Regions from separate parts of the Homo sapiens genome. Here all the other regions are linked to region 2. The links are contacts of gene promoters, found by promoter capture Hi-C in human tissues and cell types (Jung and others, 2019). All regions are on one chromosome and are shown on one strand. Each heading gives the region's core, a stretch centred on a gene start or on the middle of the fragment in contact. The rest is flanking DNA. Distances are from core to core; before and after follow the strand shown.

Region 1 (4,905 bases), core at 979-3,478, 340 kb after region 2:
GTTGTATCATCTGAAAACTCAATTTCCTATAGCAACTAGTACCAGATTGAGAGGACATTTTGTGCTGTTCAGCAATGTGAGGGAAGCTGCCGCTGGAAAGGGGAAAGGAACCAGTGTTTGGAGGGAGGCTGTGGAACAAGATAGAAAATCCTCAAAGGCAGCTAGCTGTCCATTTGCACTCCTAGAAAGAGTCAGAGAATGGAGGGAGGGCAAGGCTACTATTGCAAAGCCACTCATAGAGCCAGCCACAGTGTTTGTGTAGGGAGGGTAATTTCCGATAAAAATAGAGAAAAACTTTTTTTTTTTTTTAAATGTTAAGCACTTTAAAAGCAACTGTGGGAAATTTTAATCATAGGGTGGCTCTTTCTTTCTGAAAGAAGAAAGAGGTATTTCAATTTTAAATTCAGTGGGTTGAAATGATTGTGTCATTTCAGCTAGAGGGGAGCACGTCAGCAAGTGGAAATGTTTTATCGTGTAAAGTATGACTTGAAGATGTCACATTTAAAATTTTAAAAAAGTAAATAATTTCTGTAGTTGGTTTTCTTCCTCCACAAGAACATTTAGAACTTTGCTGCATTTGGAAAGAAAAAGTAAAAATTTCAGGCATCATATTCACCATTGACATAGAAATAGAAGTCTTACTAAATGGGCTGGGTTTCTTAATATGGTTAAGTTATGCAGAAAATAGAACAAAGATCGCCCCTTAGGAGATAAACTTTGCTTAGAGGTACTGGGGAAGATTAGCCTGTGAGTTTATTTAAGTATTTACGCTTTGATTATGGGAGTTATTTGATAAAAAGAGATGCTGACTAAATTGTAAGGCCCTTGGTTTCCAACTCCCTGTCTTACTTATCACTAAAACATCCTCTATAGTTCATTGACCTGTTAGACATTTGATACAAATTTGCTGAATCAATGAATTTTAGGATGTTTGGAATGTAAGTCTGCATTGATCATTTAAAGATGTCATCAGCCACCAGTAAGTATTAATAATGATGATAAAGGCACTATTTTAAAAAAGATTAATATAAAAATTAGAGGTATAAAATGATGACTTTATGGACTGTCTTCTTGAAGCTGGCATTATTACATGTTTGAACTAACCTGTAGTTTATGGAATATAACAATTTTCAGGGCAGTGTCCTTTTACAGAGCAATCAGACCCAACAGTCAGATTAACTCTGCCTGAATATGAAGAAATATTCAGAATCATGAAGCTCTCAAGGCTATTAGTGATGACTAAAAAATATTGAATAAAGAAATTCCTGGTCAGAGTAATTAGTTGCTCTCTTTATTTAGCTGATTGAAAGATACGGCTAATTAGAAATTTATTTTGCTGACAAGAGACCTTTTCTAAAGTGATTTTTTTCACTTCCACTGTCAGAACTTTAGGCAAATCCCTTTCTTTTGTAGCCAGGACTTACACGCATGGCAATTTTTTTTTTCCCTTTAGGAGAATATGTGTACGCGTATCAAGTAAGGCATATTGTTCATAGTTTCTTTCTAGATGTGTGACATTATTTTTTCCCTACAGAATTTTCATTTATAATCTAAGATTCTTCGTTAGTAGTAACAAATTACTGTGCCTCATAATGGTCTATACTTGGAGCATGCTGGAAAAAGAGTACAGATGTTAATTTTTTATCACAGACATTCTGGAGACAATTAAACTAGTTTTGTTTGTTTGTTTGTTTGGAGACAGAGTCTCGTTCTGTCGCTCAGGCTGGAGTGCAGTGGTGCAATCTCAGCTCACAGCAACCTCCGCCTCCCAGGTTCAAGCAATTCTCCTGCCTCAGCGTCCCGAGTAGCTGGTATTACAGGCGCCCGCCACCATGCCCAGCTACTTTTTGTATTTTTAGTGGAGATGGGGTTTCACCATGTTGGCCAGGCTGGTCTTGAACTCCTGACCTCAAGTGATCCAGCTGCCTCGGCCTCCCAAAGTGCTGGGATTACAGGCGTGAGCCACCACCCCTAGCCTAGTTTCTTCTTTTTTCATGACATTTCTGCACAAGGAAGTCTGTTTTTGTTGTTGTTAGGATTTTGTTTGTTTTTTGTTTGTATTGCCTCACTAAATGCATTGTTAAAACCTGTAGTTATTCTCTTTACTAGGGCAATCTCTTCCCTCTTAGGGGGTTTGGATTCTGACTGCCTGGATTCCAGTTCCAGTCCTGCCATATACTACCTGCATGGCCTCAGTTTAGCATCTCTACTGTTCAAACCCTCTAAGTTTCAGTTTCCTCACTTGTAACATGGGGAAAATAATAGTCTGTTGAGAATTAAATGAGATGCACTGAAGGCCCTTAACTGCCCATAGTAGCACATCGTAAGCATTCTATAATTACTGTTATCGCTGTAGTTGTTTATGTCTCTTCTTCTTTGTCCAGCCTTCCTTCTTCCTATGTTTTTTTCCCCTCGCTCAGATCAACTCTCTCACTCAATATTTCCAATATATATTTTTTTCTGGTTAATTTCATTTGTTATGTGAATATAGACCATGACATAAAGTAGGGACCGATTTCCATGTGAAGATTTTAGAATAGATACCATCATATACCTACTACAATATGTATAGGAATAACTTATTTGAGCATCGAAACACTGTTTCACATGTGAAACAAACCTAGGCCTACTCTCTTGCAGTGATTTACATGCTTTCCAGTGTGTTCCTGGATATTCGGCTCTCATCCTTGCATGTATTTTCCCACACCTCTACATGTGCCATCTCCTTTGCTCATGCTTCGCCTTCCTTCTCTGATTTCTAGCTATTGATGGTTTTTTTCCCTTGCCATGCATTAGAATTAACGTCTTTTTCTAATATCGCTTCTTTGTGAAGCTTATTACCCTTCTATTCTGTGTCCCAGATACTCTATGTTCAATCCAGTGGGGCCGCACAGGGAGAATACACAGTAATTCAGGATGGCAGCGGGGTGGGGAGAAAGAACAGGCTGGTCCGGCTCCTCCACTCCCCTGTTTCCAATGGGGGTAACTTCCCTGTTGTCCTATGTGCTGGTGACAAGGGAGAGACATGAAGGAATTGGAGGAGTTCTGTTTTTCAGGTGCTTCCCAATACCCACTGGATAACATCCAAGCTCCTGAACGTGGTACACATATTCCCTAAGGTCTGCGCTCTTGCAGCCTTGTCTTCCCACTTTAAAATTTGTACCCTGGTGATACTGTCTTTCAGTGCCCGGCACATCACATCCTGCTTTGAATTTATGTGTCGGTGCTTCTTGTGTAATGTTTGTCTGCCCATCTTTACCTTACCGACTCCAAGTCTCCAATCCATTCTTCCAAGCTCAGCACAGAGCTTGTCTCCTCTGGGAAGGCTTCCATGAGGCTTTTGCCTTCTTCCTACTGAGCCAAGTACCCTCCTTTCCTTTGGATTCAACTGCTCGCTGGGAATAGCTCTGTCATTATAGACCCTGTTACTTTGGAATGGCCTGTTTATGGGTCTGTGTTTTTCTGATGGAATAAATTCTGTGACAGCAGGGACCACATATTATTCATTTCTGTATCCCCACCTTCTAGCATGCTATGTGGTTCAGTGTACACCAACCACGGTTATTTGTAGAACTCTTAAATTGACCTCACTGGGATCCGTGGGGATGAAGGCAGTGACTGACGAAGGAATTTTACTTCCTTTCATGGGGCTTGCCTGATAGTGGCCTGACTTTAAATTTCTTTCAGACAACTTAACTGGACAGATAATTTAGCTCTTCTCCAATTTGCAGTCTTATTCCAGAAGGGACTATATTTTAAAAGGTGGAATTCATATGTTTACATTATTTGTAGATTTTTTTCTTATGTCATAGTATAGCTTGTTTGCCAACCACATGTATTTCCCATTTACTCATTTCTTCTACAGAACACATATTAAGATAATGGACTTTCTAAACACATGAGACAAATACCTACAAAATGCGTGAAACAAAATGGCCCATCAGCAGATTTTCTCATAGAAGAAACCCGTAGGCACATAATAGAATGCTCTCAGTACAAAAACAAACAAGCAATTACCTATGCTGCTTCCTGTGGGAAACTCAGCATCCTACCACCCATGGTGATGACTTCTGTGATTTTTTTTGGAGGGGTTACATCATTCTAAGGAAATTCATTCATATGTTTGTCAATAAATGCACATTTTATTTTCTTGGACAGAAAACAAAGTATGTTTTCGTTCAAGTTTATTTTCCTCTTTCTTTTGTTTTGTTTTTTTAACATAAACATTCAACATGCAATTTAGAATAATAGTGCAAAAGGCTGAATGGTGGTCGTCACAGGCTGATAGTGGGGAGGGAACTGTGTGTTCCAGAAACATCTGGAATATTTGTGATGTGGTAGTTGCCTAGAGTGTCTTCCTCTGGGCTTTGACATTAAACAATGCCTTCTAGAATTTAACTGAGTCAAGATATATTTAAATTGCAGACGTGTATTGTTGTTAGTCTGATAAAAATCATATTTGATGAATCTGCTCTTAATTTCCTTCTCTGTATTATAAAAGCTCTTCCTTTCTTATGTTAATCCAACATTTTCAAGAATATTATAAGAATGGAGACTTGAAATAAATCATATTGGGAAACACCAGTGAGAAAAGGTTTTGAAAATTCAAAAGGTGAAAAATATATCTAGCCCCAGTAGATAAATGTCTATGGTGAGAATTGATGTCAATATAATTTTTATTTTTTAATTTTTCATTATAAATTGTCAATTTATAATTGTATAAATTTATGGGGTACAAAGTGACATTACAGAGGATGGGAAGATGATGACCAAAGTGTTAAAAATCTCACTGAGGCATGAGGAATATATATATGTGTGTGTGTGTGTGTGTGTGTGTGTGTGTGTGTGTATATGTATTTAGTTCTATTGCACAGTGTGGCATATATTGTTAAAAATATTGTATAG
Region 2 (4,423 bases), core at 1,642-4,141:
TGGGAAGTATAGTAATATAGTGACTATTGCCCTAAAAGGAAAGTAAAGAGAACTTAGTTTCCATTACCGGTCTTCATTGATTTATGACATGCTTATAAGCTAACTCATCAATGTCTGTGATTATTTAGTTTGTGTGTTTGTTTCTCAACAAGATAAAAAGACTGTGATACATTTATTTATCATGACTTCACAGAAACATTAGGAGAATTAATAACGTATTATTTTTCAAAAGCTTGGAACACATGATTGTTATTTTTATTTTGGCAAATAAAGTAGATACATGAATAAGTTAAGCTTCCTATAACTGTATTAATTTTTTTTTTCTTTTTGAGGCGGAGTCCAGCTATGTCGCCCAGGCTGGAGTGCAGTGGCGCGATCTCGGCTCACTGCAACCTCTGCCTCCCGGGTTCAAGCGATTCTCCTGCCTTAGCCTTCTGAGTAGCTGGGATTAGAGGCACAGACCACCATGTCCAGCTAATTTTTTGTATTTTTAGTAGAGACCAGGTTTCGCCATGTTGGCCAGGCTGGTCTCCTGACCTCTGGTGATCAGCCCACCTCAGCTTCCCAAAGTGCTGGGATTACAGGCGTGAGCCACCATGCCTGGCCATTTTTTTTTTTAATCACTAGAAGTTGTGAGGAGTTACTGAATTTTTTTCATTTCACTTTATTCTTTTTCAAAACTCAAATTAACACAAGCGATGGCTAATCTTGTTTTCACATGAAAATTAAGGACAAGTCAGGGCTCACTTTCCATTCCACTTTATTTAGACATATCTTAATAAACTAAAAATTATTATAAGATTTTTCCCATTGATATTTGCATTGTTTTTCATTTTTGGAAAAATTTCATACTTCCGTTATCCATTTTTAGTCAAGTTACAATGTAATTAAACTTACCAAGTGAAAAACAATGTATACTTTAAGCTAAAAATTTAGAATTTCTACAAAGTCTTATAGTTGCGGGGAATCAGGAGAGGCAAGTTTCATTCAATGTCTTTTAGAACCAAGGTGACAGAGCTATACGTACATTTATTTGTAATGTAATATTTAGAGAAAAACATATTAATGCATTTTAGTGCTAAATGACATGGAGGGTTATTGATCAACTCTGTACAGCATATTTAATTTCTTAATACAACATGACCCATGGTGATGGTGTTTTAGATAAAAATCTCATGGATTTGATTATTATAATTTAAAAATACTTGATCTAATGAAAATTATTTTAATACATTTCTGGTTGAAATAGAGTGTATTTGCAATAGAAATCTTTCAAATATATTTTGTAGGATTTATGAAGGTAGAATGTTCAGTGCTCCCTCTCCAGGTTTTATCATATTGGTGAACTGACCTCTCAGCTCACAACTGTGGTAATAGTTTTGAAGAACCAAATAAGATACTCTGATAGGATAGTCTATTTTTGATTTGTCTATTCCAAATACATTCACAAGAAACCTATCCATCACTAGTAAAATTTCATTACATCCCCAAATCTAATGAGATCTATGAAAAAAATACAATGAAATCAATTTTATTCTTTTAAATAGCCTATTTTAATACAATTCATAATATTAAGAGTGAATATGTAGCTTTTTGGCTTGATTCTTATTCTATGCTATTTTCTAATGATGCTTTTTTATTGTTATTCATGTTCTTAACAATGCTCTGTGTTCTTCAGAGGCAATTCCAAACACAACTTTAATTTTTGAAAGTGCTCAGACATTTGAAAGTCCTGTGTGTGTGCGTGTGTGTTATGTATGTATATATTTATAGTTTCAACAGAACCACTTGCTATTGTAAATGAGACTAAAAATGTACTTTGAACTAAAAATTTCCATACTTATATGTTTATATGATTTAGATTCTAGAGTTTTGTTATTGTTTGCTTTGTTTTGCCAGACTTTAAGCTACTCCTGATATATAGTACCTGGAAAAATATTTCCTTTCCACTAAGTTTTTGGTCTTTAGGTGGCTTTTAAAAGTTTCTACGGAACCTTCAATTCCACAAAAAGTTATCCTCACTGCAGCATGAAAAGGCACAACTTTGATAATAAATGCCTAAAATCCCATAGTTTGTAAGAAAGTAGAAATCAAGTTTCCTACTTAAAGTGTTTTTTTTCCAGTCATATCAGCTATTACTAAGAATTATAAAACTTCTTGATAAATTTTTTCTATTCTAATTAATTGACTTTTAGCTAATTAAAAAATATACGGGTTTGTATTTTTTGCAAAATTATACAACTATATTACAAAATTGAAAGAATTTGGTTTTTTCTCCATGTGCTTGATTTTTGGGAAATCATATAACAAGCCAAGGTAAAGCAATTATTTAAAAAACCCACAGCAGAAAATTTCACCTTTATTACATATGCTTATATTACATTTGCAGTAAGGAGTGCCACCTTTTGAACTTTAGGTTTCACATATTCTGAACTTTGTTGTAAATAGGAACTGTAATGTTATATAATCATCTTTTTGTGTCAATATACGTTTTCCCTCTAGTTGGTCAGAAGTGATGGCTTGGCATACAACTTTTTTCATTTTCTTTTATTCTTCACAATTCTTTTCTAATTCAACTTAAGAGTAGAGTCCACCAATCCTTTTAATTGAGATCGACAACTGAAGATTGCTAACTAAATCCGAATGTATTCCTCTATGACAAACTGCATTTGCAGAATTTTTAGAGGCACTCCCGAAGTTTTAAGAGGATGTTTATTACACGAGTCTGTAGGGCAACATTTCCAAGTTGGTACACATAAACGAAAGAGGAAACGATAGTTAAGGAAATCCTGTTCCAGGTTTTCGGGCAGCCCGAGTGATTGACACATGATATCACCGGAGGCGTGTCCTGGAGTGGAGGTGGAGGTGGAGGCAAGGAGCTGAAATTCTGCGTAGCCGGAGTGAGACCGCTCTGCAAACCACTGCGTGCTTTGCAGAGTGATTATCAGCACAGTTCCCTGCCCTGGATAAGGAACAGCTACAGTCGCTGTTAAATGTGCCTGAAAAGCAATTTGCAATCTTTGCATTAGGTAAGTACCGTTTCCTTCCGTAGACATTTTAGGAAAGATAAGGTGAGAAATGTTGACTTTTGCAAGGAACTGAACATTTATTTATTTGAACTTGCTTTCCAGCTAAGGTTACTGGTTGCATTTCAAAACACCGGTAGCATTCCCACTGCTAAAACTAATGCTCTTAAAGTAAATGCTACCGCTAAAAGAAAAAGCAGGGTCCCTTTCACCTTTCCTTAACCGAACAGTAGACGTTTAAAGTCTGAAACGATCGAATTTGTGAAACACAGAGCCGTTAATGCCTTTATGCGAAGAGGGGCTAGCACTCGGTGTGTGGACCAAATGCGTGTTTGTTTAGGCATTGTTGGCGACCGAATCCCGAGTGAAGCATTGGTTTAAAACCTGAATTTCCCGTCTCTGTGTATTGATTCCTAACGCGCAGAGGCGTTGCTTGAACGTTGTTTGAACTCCTAGGCATTCCAGGGGGCAAAAGCACCTCGGCAAAAACGTGCAGGACTGCATGTTACTTTGGTTCGCGGCTGACACGCCGACTGTGCGCCGGCCTGTCAATCACCGGGAGCAGCAACAGGGAGCACATGGCAACGGGCTGCGGGCGAGCTGGCCAGCGGCCCGCCCGGGGTCCCAGCCCTTCGAAGAAAGGGACATTCACGAGCTTCTATCTCTAATTCTCTGTCGCAGGCATTTCGGCCGTGGAACCCCAGGCTCGGAGGACTGGGTGTGAGCGCTGCCCGGGAGAGGCTGACCTGCCGGGACCGGAGTGCCCGGGGACGCTGTGCCCCCACTTGCCCAACGTGCGGAATCGGCTAAGCGCGTCGGCCTGCGCGGGGCACAAGGGACGACGCCCGCCTTTCTCTCTCCGAGAAGGATCCCCAAACCTCACTCTCTTCACTCCTCCCCGCTAAAAAAAAAAAAAAAAAGAAAAGGGTAAAAAAATCCCCCTCCCCCTCCCGGCCGCGGCAGCCTCTGCCTGGCAGGCGCGTGCTCCGAGGTTTCGCCGGGGTACTGCGCGGCTCCGTGACCCACCCGCCGACGGCGGTTCGGGCCCCGACCCGGGCGCTGCGGAGTCTCGAACGCCCGTGACGTGGATTTTTCGCTCGTCAGGAAGCCGCCATCCCTTCCTTCGTTCCTTGCGAGGAGCGACTAGAACCCGAGTTCTCTGAGCACACCGTGCCGTCAGCTGGCCCGTCACGCACTCGACTCCGCCACTCCCCTACTTGTTTTTCTGAGACTTGGGAAGCCTTCCTGAAAGGATTTGTAAAAACTGGTTCTTGGAAAGGGGCTGCAGAAGACCTCCCGAGGTGGATGTTACTGAGCCGCCCGGCGAGCACCAGCCGTGACAGGTCCGGGCCCGGCCGCGCGGAGCCGCGGGAGAACTGCCCTCCGCAGCCGGAAGG
Region 3 (4,758 bases), core at 910-3,409, 380 kb after region 2:
CTTGCTGCTGTCTTTGGAATAGGGAGTTCTTATAAGATCTGCTCATTTAAAAGTGTGTGGCACCCCCACCCCAATCTCTCTCTTGCTTGTTCCTGTTCTCGCTATGTGCCTGCTTCCCCTTTGTCTTCCGCCATAATTGTAAGCTTCCTGCGACCTCCCTAGAAGCTGAGCAGATGCTAGCACCATGCTTCCTCTAAAGCCTGCAGAACCGTGAGCCAACTAAACCTCTTTTCTTTATAAATTACTCAGTCTCAGGAATTTTTTGTAGCAATGCAAGAACAGCCTAATATACCTGCATCCCAGAAGCTTGCAATTGGTGAAAGGGGAATAGGTGTATGAAAAAAATGAGGGCAATTATATGAGTTAGAACTCCTTGAATTGCATGTGACTGAGACCCAACTTCAACTAGTTTAAGAAAAATAGGGAATTTATTGGCTCATAGAATCCAGTGAAGTTCTGAACAAAGCAAGCATTAAAAGAGAGGGATGCAGCCAAGCTTTATGGACACCCAGCAACAGTAATTTCCCTTAGGCCTAACTTTCTTTCTTTTACCTCTGTATTTCTCCGAGAATGAGACCTTTTTTTGTCCCTCACTACAGATAGGATTTATTGTCTGTGGTGGTGAACTCACTACTGCAAAGCATTGACTACCAAGCCTATGCTTTCCACAAGGGAGAGGAACCAACTCATGTTAGAAGCTTTGGTTTAAAAAATTCTTTTCTTTAAAATTATTTTTTAAGGGCTAGGATACAGGTGAAGGTTTGTTGCATAGGTATACATGTGCTGTGGTGGTTTGCTGCACCCATCAATCCGTCATCTAGGTTTTAAGCCCTGCATACAGTAGGTATTTGTCCTAATGCTCTCCCTCTTCTTGCCCCCCACCCCGCGACAGGCCCCGATGGGTGATGTTCCCCTCCCTGTGCCCATGTGTTCTCGTTGTTCAACTCCCACTTAGGAGTGAGAACATGTGGTGTTTGGTTTTCTGTTCCTGTGTCAGTTTGCTGAGAATGATGGTTTCCAGCTTCATCCATGTCCTTGCAAAGAACATGAACTCATTCTTTTTTATGGCTGCATAGTATTTCGTGGTGTATATATGCCACATTATCTTTATCCAGTCTATTATTGATGTGCATTTGGGTTGCTTCCGAGTCTTTGCTATTGTGAATAGTGCTGCAGTAAACATACGTGTGCATGTGTCTTTATAGTAAAATGGTATATAATCCTTTGGGTATATACCCAGGATTGCTGGGTCAAATGGTATTTCTAGTTCTAGATCCTTGAGGAATCGCCACACTGTCTTCCACAATGATTGAACTAATTTACACTCCCACCAACAGTGTAAAAGCGTTCCTATTTCTTCACAGCATCACTAGCATCTGTTGTTTCCTGACTTTTTAATGATCGCCATTCTAACTGGTGTGAGATGGTATCCCAATTTGGTTTTGATTTGCATTTCCCTAATGACCAGTGATGATGAGCTTTTTCTCATATGTTGTTGGCCACATAAATGTCTTCTTTTGAGAAGTGTCTGTTCATATCCTTCACTCACTTTTTGATGGGCTTATTTTTTTTTCTTGTAAATTTGTTTGAGTTCCTTGTAGATTCTGGATATTAGCCCTTTGTCAGATGAGTAGATTGCAAAAATTTTCTCCCATTCTGTAGGTTGCCTGTTCACTCCGATGATAGTTTTATTTGCTGTGCAGAAGCTCTTTAGTTTAATTAGATCTCATTTGTTAATTTTGGCTTTTGTTGCAATTGCTTTTGTTTTTTTAGTCTTGAAGTCTTTGCCCATGCTTATGTCCTGAATGGTATTGCCTAGGTTTTCTTTTAGGGTTTTTATGGTTTTAGGTTTTACACTTAAGTATTTAATTCAACTTGAGTTAATTTTTGTATAAGGTATAAAAAAGGGGCCCAGTTTCAGTTTTCTGCATATGGCTAGCAAGTTTTCCCAGCACCATTTATTAAATAGGGAATCCTTTCCCCATTGCTTGTTTTTGTCAGGTTTGTCGAAGATCAGATGGTTGTAGATGTGTGGTATTATTTCTGAGGCCTCGGTTCTGTTCCATTGGTCTATATATCTGTTTTGGTACCAGTATCATGCTGGTTTGGTTTTTGCATTGCCAGTCCCTTAGCTACCAGAGCCATTGATCAACTATTCTCTCAAAAAGGATTAATCAAAATAATCAGCATTTGCTATTCAAGGTCTTATTTCAAAACTGTTAATGTTATATTTTTGAGACCTCTAAGAAGAGATTTCATAACAATTTTTGTAACCTGTTTGAACCTTCAATCACAATGTCAGGAAATCTTGCTTTCTAAATTAAATTCCTCCTGGTACAACTGAAGTCCTTTTCCATGTTGTCTCCTTTGGGGAGATCAAGCATATTATAGTCACTCTCTTCTGAGAGAGTATAGCCTTGTATAGTTTGAAGTCAGGTAGTGTGATGCCTCCAGCTTTATTCTTTTTGCTTAGGATTGTCTTGGCTATATGGGCTCTTTTTGCCTCCATATGAAATTTAAAGTAGTTTTTTCTAGTTCTGTGAAGAAAGTCAATAGTAGCTTGATGGGAATAGCATTGAATCTATAAATTACTTTGGGCAGTATGGGCATTTTTACAATATTGATTCTTCCTATCCATGAGCATGGAATGTTTTCCATTTGTTTGTGTCCTCTTTTATTTCCTTGAGCAGTGGTTTGTAGTTCTCCTTGAAGAGGTCCTTCACTTCCCTTGTAAGTTGTATTCCTACGCATTTTATTCTCTTTGTAGCAATTGTGAATGGGAGTTCACTTATGATTTGGCTCTCTGTTTGTCTATTACTGGTGTATAGGAGTGCTTATGATTTTCGCACATTGATTTTGTATCCTGAGACTTTGCTGAAGTTGCTTATCAGCTTAAGAAGATTTTGGGCTGAGACAATGGGGTTTTCTAAATATACAATCATGTCGTCTGCAAACAGAGACAATTTGACTTCCTCTCTTCCTATTTGAATACCCTTTATTTCTTTCTCTTGCCTGATTGCCCTGGCCAGAAGTCCCAATACTATGTTGAAGTCTGGCATTTTGAAAGCAGGCTTATGCATGTGTATGTAAAAGAAATGTGTATGAAATTCTAAGTTATAAATTACATTTGCCAATGTACTTTGTAATGTTGGCCTGTACCATTAAAGATGTTAGAATTTTGCCTTGACACTAGAGTCTGATCTTTAGGAGGAGGAAGGACTTAAGGAATGTACCAGAAGGTTGGGAGAGGCAAGAGCTAGATCAAGAGGGGGATTTGAAAAGTAGGGGTGAAGATAAAGATCCAGTTTTAACTTGGAAGTGGAAACTACTTCCAGGAAGAATGATTCTAGGAAAGAAAAACTTGTTCTATATGGGGGTAGAAATTTTGAGTGGTGACAATAAGGCTTGGAGTCCTTCCAAACATATGAATTAGTTTCAGAATTATATTATTTGAATCAATTGAACTTGAGAATTGGAATTGGTAGACATATTAAATCATTGCATTTTTATTAAGCTTTTTGACTTGAGGTTTCCAAATATTAGCAACTGCTTAATTAATTGGGCAGTAATCATGATGACGGGAGCTGTCTTTTATGTCTTTCAATGTGTCTGGCTCAGTGTTGAACATATAGAAACATGACTTACTGATTTCTAATAATTTGACAAGTACATTATATAGTATTTAGTAGATATGTACTTAGGTAAAATACATTTAAATTGACTAATTTCTCCACTGGAAAACTAAATTTATGTAATCAGGATTTTCTCTAAATAGTGGGCTGATTCCTTACCTTTATGGTCAGTGCAGTGGACCAAGACCAATAACATGGTGTATGATAAGATATTTGCTTTTGGGTGGGGAAGATTTGCTTAAAGCGGAGAAGGTTTCAGGATGACAAAACAAATTTTCCCGCAAGTTTGGTATCAAGCTTTTGTTTTGTTATACTTGATTATCTACTTTGGCTGAATAATCCAAACATACATTCCAATCCAATTTAGTCCCTGCTTAGAGTGGCTCTTCTTATTTGTCCAAGAGTTTCAGAACTATTTTTTTTCTACTTCTTCTGAGCATTCAGCCTTTATGTATTTCAAGGACAACAGACTCCAGAGATTTGGGTTTTATTCATGACTTCTTCAAGAAGTGGGCCATGCTATTTCAGTCATTTTTAATTGGGGGGCAAGTTGGATGCTGAATATTTCAAAGGAGAAAATAAAATAACCTAGTAGATATGTTTCCTGGCATAGATGATAGAAAAGTCACTTAGACTCCTGTATGCCATAGTTTAATCAAAATGTATCCAGTTCACTGTCTGTCCTTCCATTAATATCACAACTTAATGTACAAGTCTTTAGCATATCCTATACTTTGCCTAAAAGAAAAATGTATTTAACATCTCAGTGAATATACTTATTTAATGCAGCTCATAGATTCATATGTTTGACAAAGATAGTGAGAAATTTTAGGTAAAAATGATTTTCACAAAAGAGAATTGCATTATATGTTAAATTTATAAAACTATTTCCAAGAATCATGGAATCATAAAAGTGAGACAACAAACTCAATTCTTTTGCGTAAATTCTTTTGGCATTTGTTTAATGATTTTCTCAATCCTCCTGTTAGTTATATGAATCACAGGATTCCCAATGATTTGATAAATGTGAGTATGAAGTTTAACATACTTAGACTGGAAAAAGCTATCCAACAAGTGAGTCACAAGTGAGAAATACCCAACACAAATGTGTTATTTCACCTAAATT
Region 4 (4,696 bases), core at 301-2,800, 420 kb after region 2:
TTGGGGTGGTGAGTCAGTAAAGGAAAACAATCATTTAGTTTGCTTCCTAATTGGGATTATCAGTGGCTACAAATACTGAAGTCAGATAGGATGATCTGAATACCATCTATCCCCCTTCACTTTCAACTTTTCTGTACTCATATTGATACTTGCCAGTATCAGCAAAGGGAAAAGAAGCCCAGGGCTGGGAATAAAGTTTATGCAATAAGTTGGTGAGCTTATGCAGCTCAATAAAAACTGATGACCTAGTGTTATTTCAAGGACATGTTATTCTAAATCTGAAAGGAATGTTGCAACCTAATCCTTACCGTCTTCACTCACCTGCTTCCAATCAGGACTGCTACTGATGACGAGCTTAAAAAGGGAGGAAGAGGAATTTAGATTTGAGCCAATACACAACAACACAACCAGGCATGTGTTCCCTTAAAAATCTTGTCTTCCTGAGTGTGTATCCCAACATTATGGAAAATTATATATGTGTTTCATCCACACTGATATGTTTTTGTTTTTGACTTAAGACATTAAGGAAATCTGACACCCTTTTGAGGCTTCTTAATCAAATGCTTTAAAAATATTTCAGAGACACTGGATTAAAATAATTGCTGTAGAGGATGAGTGGTGGCTTGGGAGAGTTTTCACAAACTTTTGTAGTCATAGAGATTTTTTTTACAAGAAGAACTTGTAAGGAGATCCATGAGGAAAGAGAGAAGAGGCTGAGCATTCAAAGTGGGAGGTTAACTGCTACACGTGTCGGTATGATGGAGGGTTTGTTGGCCCGGAGGAGGATTTCTTGATGCTGAGCTTGAGTCCTTCTTCCCTTACCTATGTTTGTTGGGAATGTAGAACAGCTGCTTACCACCCATATGATTCCATTATTTAATCTGCCGGCTTTTTTCTGGGAATGAAATAATCCTGATTCCTTTAAGCTTTCATCATGGTATCTGTTTCTCTGCTTTATAATCATTTTCACCAAGTTCTTCTCCAACTCTCCTCATCACAATTACAACTGGGAGCTTCAGAAGCGAATAACGCTGCTGAATGTAATGGAAACATGACTAAGACTGTTTTCAAAAGCATCCTCCATTGGCACAGATAAATTACTGTACAGTTACTTCATTATGTCATCTGATTTCAGTAACTGGGTTTAGAGGAGACATTGCCCAAAGAAAGGGAAGTCACCAGTTTCAATTATTATTTTTTTTTTAATTTCTGAAAGGGGAAATTTCAGTAGTATTCTGTATTTGTCCTTCATTTCCCTCAGATTTTTTTCTACGTGTTAATCTGATCTTTATGGACAAACACATTGTATTCTGCTTATTTTAATTGGAATTAAAAGTATACTAATGGCTTCTGTTGGTGATGACATTCATTTATTCATCCATTTATGCACTCAAGCCATATGTTTGAACTGCTAGCGAGAGAAAAGCTATATTCTAGGTGATAGGGTTAAAATAGTGAATAAAGATAGATATAGTACCTACAGTCTTGTGGTGGAGAAAGGTATTATACAAATGCTTATGTAATTGAAAATTGAAATATAAGAGATAAAAGAAAGAGCAAAGTTGTATGAGAATATAAAATAAAGGAAACTCACTGGAGACACGTTAAGGCTTCTCTTGGGAAAACAAAGGCACTGGAGCTGACATGTGGTGGGAAATTAATTGGACGAAGAGGCAAATGTGTTGGAGAACTGCGTTCTTTGTAGAGGGAACAGCATATTCAAAAAGTATTATGTATTTTTATATAGTTAGCAGACTTAAATTTCCTTAAATTTGTATTGTCTCCTTTAATTATTTTAGTTTGAATTACCTGTTTTCCCTTCATTTTGTCATAAGGAGTCCCTCATTTGAGTTTCTATTGTATGCTGATCCTGTGTTAAGGGATTTGAATTTTTCCTGATTAAATAACAAAATTTTGTATTGTGCTATACCATTCCTTAGGGCTCCACTCTGAATAAAAAACGGCTAATGGCTTTCACTTTTCATCCTAGACTTTGTTTAGTGTGACACTTACTGAACCCTCCATAAATCCCTGTAGTCATGTCTGTGTAGACATACATTGTTACAGAGGCACTCTGTCCTTTTTTCTGCTTTTGGAGAATAGGTGCTAAATTTTCCCACATTCTAAGATAATTTCATTGAATAGGACAGCCTCCTTATAAAATGGCGATAAGCATATATGACCCCCCTACATATCCCAGTAGCTGTATAGTTCTGCTTTGAGCTGCCTGATTAATTGACTCCCTAAGTCCCGCCCTAAATTCTTGATTAGTTAAGATTCCCCACATTCCTGACTTTTCCTTGAATTCTGTAGTCCCTCAAATTTGACTTACCCGTCCTGACTGTTGGCTACTCTTTAAATATCTTAGTTTGCAGCCCTGATTGACAGTCCCTGCATGGTTGTTCTTCAAGCACATATTGAACATTACATTCTCATGTGCCCTAGAACTATGGGTTTGATCGGTGTCTTTTAAATCATTCATAAAAAAAAATGCAGGAAACTCAAACAAGATAGACAATATGATATAAAACAATGTTTGGAATATGGTCCTTCTTGGCTGGGTGTGGTGGCTCACACCTGTAATCCCAGCACTTTGGGAGGCTCAGGAGGGCGGATCACGAGGTCAAAAGATCGAGATCATCCTGGCCAACATGGTGAAACCCCATCTCTACTAAAACTACAAAAATTAGGTGGGTGTGGTGGCACACCTGTAGTCCCAGCTACTCAGGGGGCTGAGGCAGGAGAATCGCTTGAACCCGGGAGACGGAGGTTGCAGTGAGCTGAGATCGCGCCACTGCACTCCAGCCCTGGCAACAGAGCAAGACTCTTGTCTCAAAAAAAAAAAAAAAAAAAGAATATGGTCCTTCCTTTCAAAAGAAGGACTTACAGTAAAAGGATTTCCATTTTCAGTGGCAATACCTTTGATTATTAAGGATGTTCATCACTTCCCTTTGTGAGGCAGGAAGAATGGCTTATCCAAAATCATTCATTTTGTTGTGAAAAGAATATTTTATTCATTTCAAGTGGGCACATTCATTCTTCCACATTGAGTTCTGTGGACTCCTAGATGATATGAGGATACTAACTAGATCTAGATAACTCCTAATTCTCTAGTATCCATCTCTTTGCCCTCCTGATCTCAGGCTTACCAAATTATGGACATGACTCATTTCTCTCCATATTCTATTACTCATACAACTTGACAAATATTCAAACAATATGGCAAAGATTGAGCATCACTTTTTCTTTTTCTTAACTCTAAAACTTCTTGATGGTCTGTTATCTTCTGGGCTCCCCTTCTTCATCCACCTGTTTCTCTTATTTGCTTTTGAGCTTCATTAGATCTCCCATTATGATAGTTTTCTTCTCTACAAAAGAGAAATGAAACATAAATACTATCTCCTCTAAGTAGTTGTAAGGAGTTTGCCAAATTGCAACATCAGAGGGAACAGTCCCCACAAGACTGCCCTCACCTTTGGACAGCAATTGCAAGTTCAGAGACTTCCCAAAACCACACTCAGTTTTGATAACCTGCTATTATGACTCACAGAACTCAGGAAAGTGCTATATTTGCAATTAGTTTTCTATTGAAAGGAGGCAAATTAGAACTGGCCAAAGAAAGAGACACACTGGGCAAATTCTGGGAGGCAAAGTTTCTGGTCATCTCCAGGTGGAATCCTGGATGGCATTACCTCCTCCAGGCTACTATGTGAGACAATACTCAATGAATACTGCCCAGGAGGAGCCTCACTTGATCTTCAGTATCTGAAGTTTTCATGGGAGCTTCATTATGTGGGAATAATTGATTGAATCATTGCCATGTTTCCAGCTCTCCTCCCTCCCTGGAGGTTGGGTTGACACCAAGGGGTTCACCATAAATCACCTCATTAGCATGAACTGTTGAGGTGTGCTTGAGGGTTCGTTATGAATAACAAATACACTCCTACCGCGCAGAAGTTCCAAGGGTGTAGAGATCACCTCCTGAAAGCCAGGGCAAAGGCCAGAATTCATTCTTACACAGTAGTTAATTAAGTGAAGAAAATCTGTCGCTCTTTTAACTAACATACTTTTATAATATATTAATATGTATTATATACCTAAACATATTATAACATATTCTATTTATAGTAAATAAATATGTATGATATGAGATAGAGATATCTGTGAAAATGATCAGTTGCTTGGATTATAAACTCCGAATGATATTTTCTTTTGAAGGATCTTATATACAGCCATGGGACAAAGTAAGTCACCATTAGAGGCATCATTATATATACAGTATTAGCACACCTACCTTAACCTCATTTTGTGGGAAGATGCCTCCAAATCTTTCATTTATTTATTAATTGGAATTATTTAATTCCTTTACAATTTAAAATGTATTAATTGAGAATCTAGGGTGGGTCAGGCACTATGTTTTAAATTTTGTGATGAGAACGACATAGTTTCTGTATTTGAAGAGCTACCATTCTATTGCAGGAGGCAGTGAGAAAAATTGTAATACAATACCATAAATGCTATACTAGTCATGAACCAGGTACTGGGGGAACTAAATGTAAGTACTTTCATTGAATTTGTGGGTAAGAAGTATCATCCTGGAAACAAGTTTCTTATGTCTGTCACATTGTATGTATAGTACTGGATAAATTCCAATGTTAAAATTAAAGTTTAATTAGGTAAGTTGGCATAAAGTTTT

Evidence for each region. Contacts are between HindIII fragments. The study calls those that stand out against the background at their distance.
Region 1: a fragment that was not itself captured here is called in contact with the fragment with the promoter of SPRY1 in region 2 in 2 of the 25 tissues and cell types used here (dorsolateral prefrontal cortex and heart left ventricle).
Region 3: a contact is called between a fragment that was not itself captured here and the fragment with the promoter of SPRY1 in region 2, in 1 of the 25 tissues and cell types used here (dorsolateral prefrontal cortex).
Region 4: a fragment that was not itself captured here is called in contact with the fragment with the promoter of SPRY1 in region 2 in 2 of the 25 tissues and cell types used here (aorta and dorsolateral prefrontal cortex).

Annotation. Positions count from the first base shown.
Region 1 is chr4:123,736,448-123,741,352 of GRCh38, forward strand. The region is part of intron 3 of LINC01091 (long intergenic non-protein coding RNA 1091); the gene reads left to right. Among named protein-coding and RNA genes, the nearest start is that of LINC01091, 89 kb to the left of the region's middle. The HindIII fragment of the contact is 6,603 bases long and covers 1-4,905 here.
Region 2 is chr4:123,393,904-123,398,326 of GRCh38, forward strand. It overlaps SPRY1 (sprouty RTK signaling antagonist 1), which reads left to right and starts at 2,892. Exons shown (of 3, transcript NM_001258038.2): 1 at 2,892-3,029; 2 at 3,708-3,953. RefSeq lists a silencer at 4,327-4,423. The HindIII fragment of the contact is 12,155 bases long and covers 1-4,423 here.
Region 3 is chr4:123,778,634-123,783,391 of GRCh38, forward strand. All of the region lies in intron 3 of LINC01091 (long intergenic non-protein coding RNA 1091), which reads left to right. Among named protein-coding and RNA genes, the nearest start is that of LINC01091, 130 kb to the left of the region's middle. The HindIII fragment of the contact is 3,124 bases long and covers 598-3,721 here.
Region 4 is chr4:123,816,388-123,821,083 of GRCh38, forward strand. All of the region lies in intron 3 of LINC01091 (long intergenic non-protein coding RNA 1091), which reads left to right. Among named protein-coding and RNA genes, the nearest start is that of LINC01091, 170 kb to the left of the region's middle. The HindIII fragment of the contact is 9,548 bases long and covers 1-4,696 here.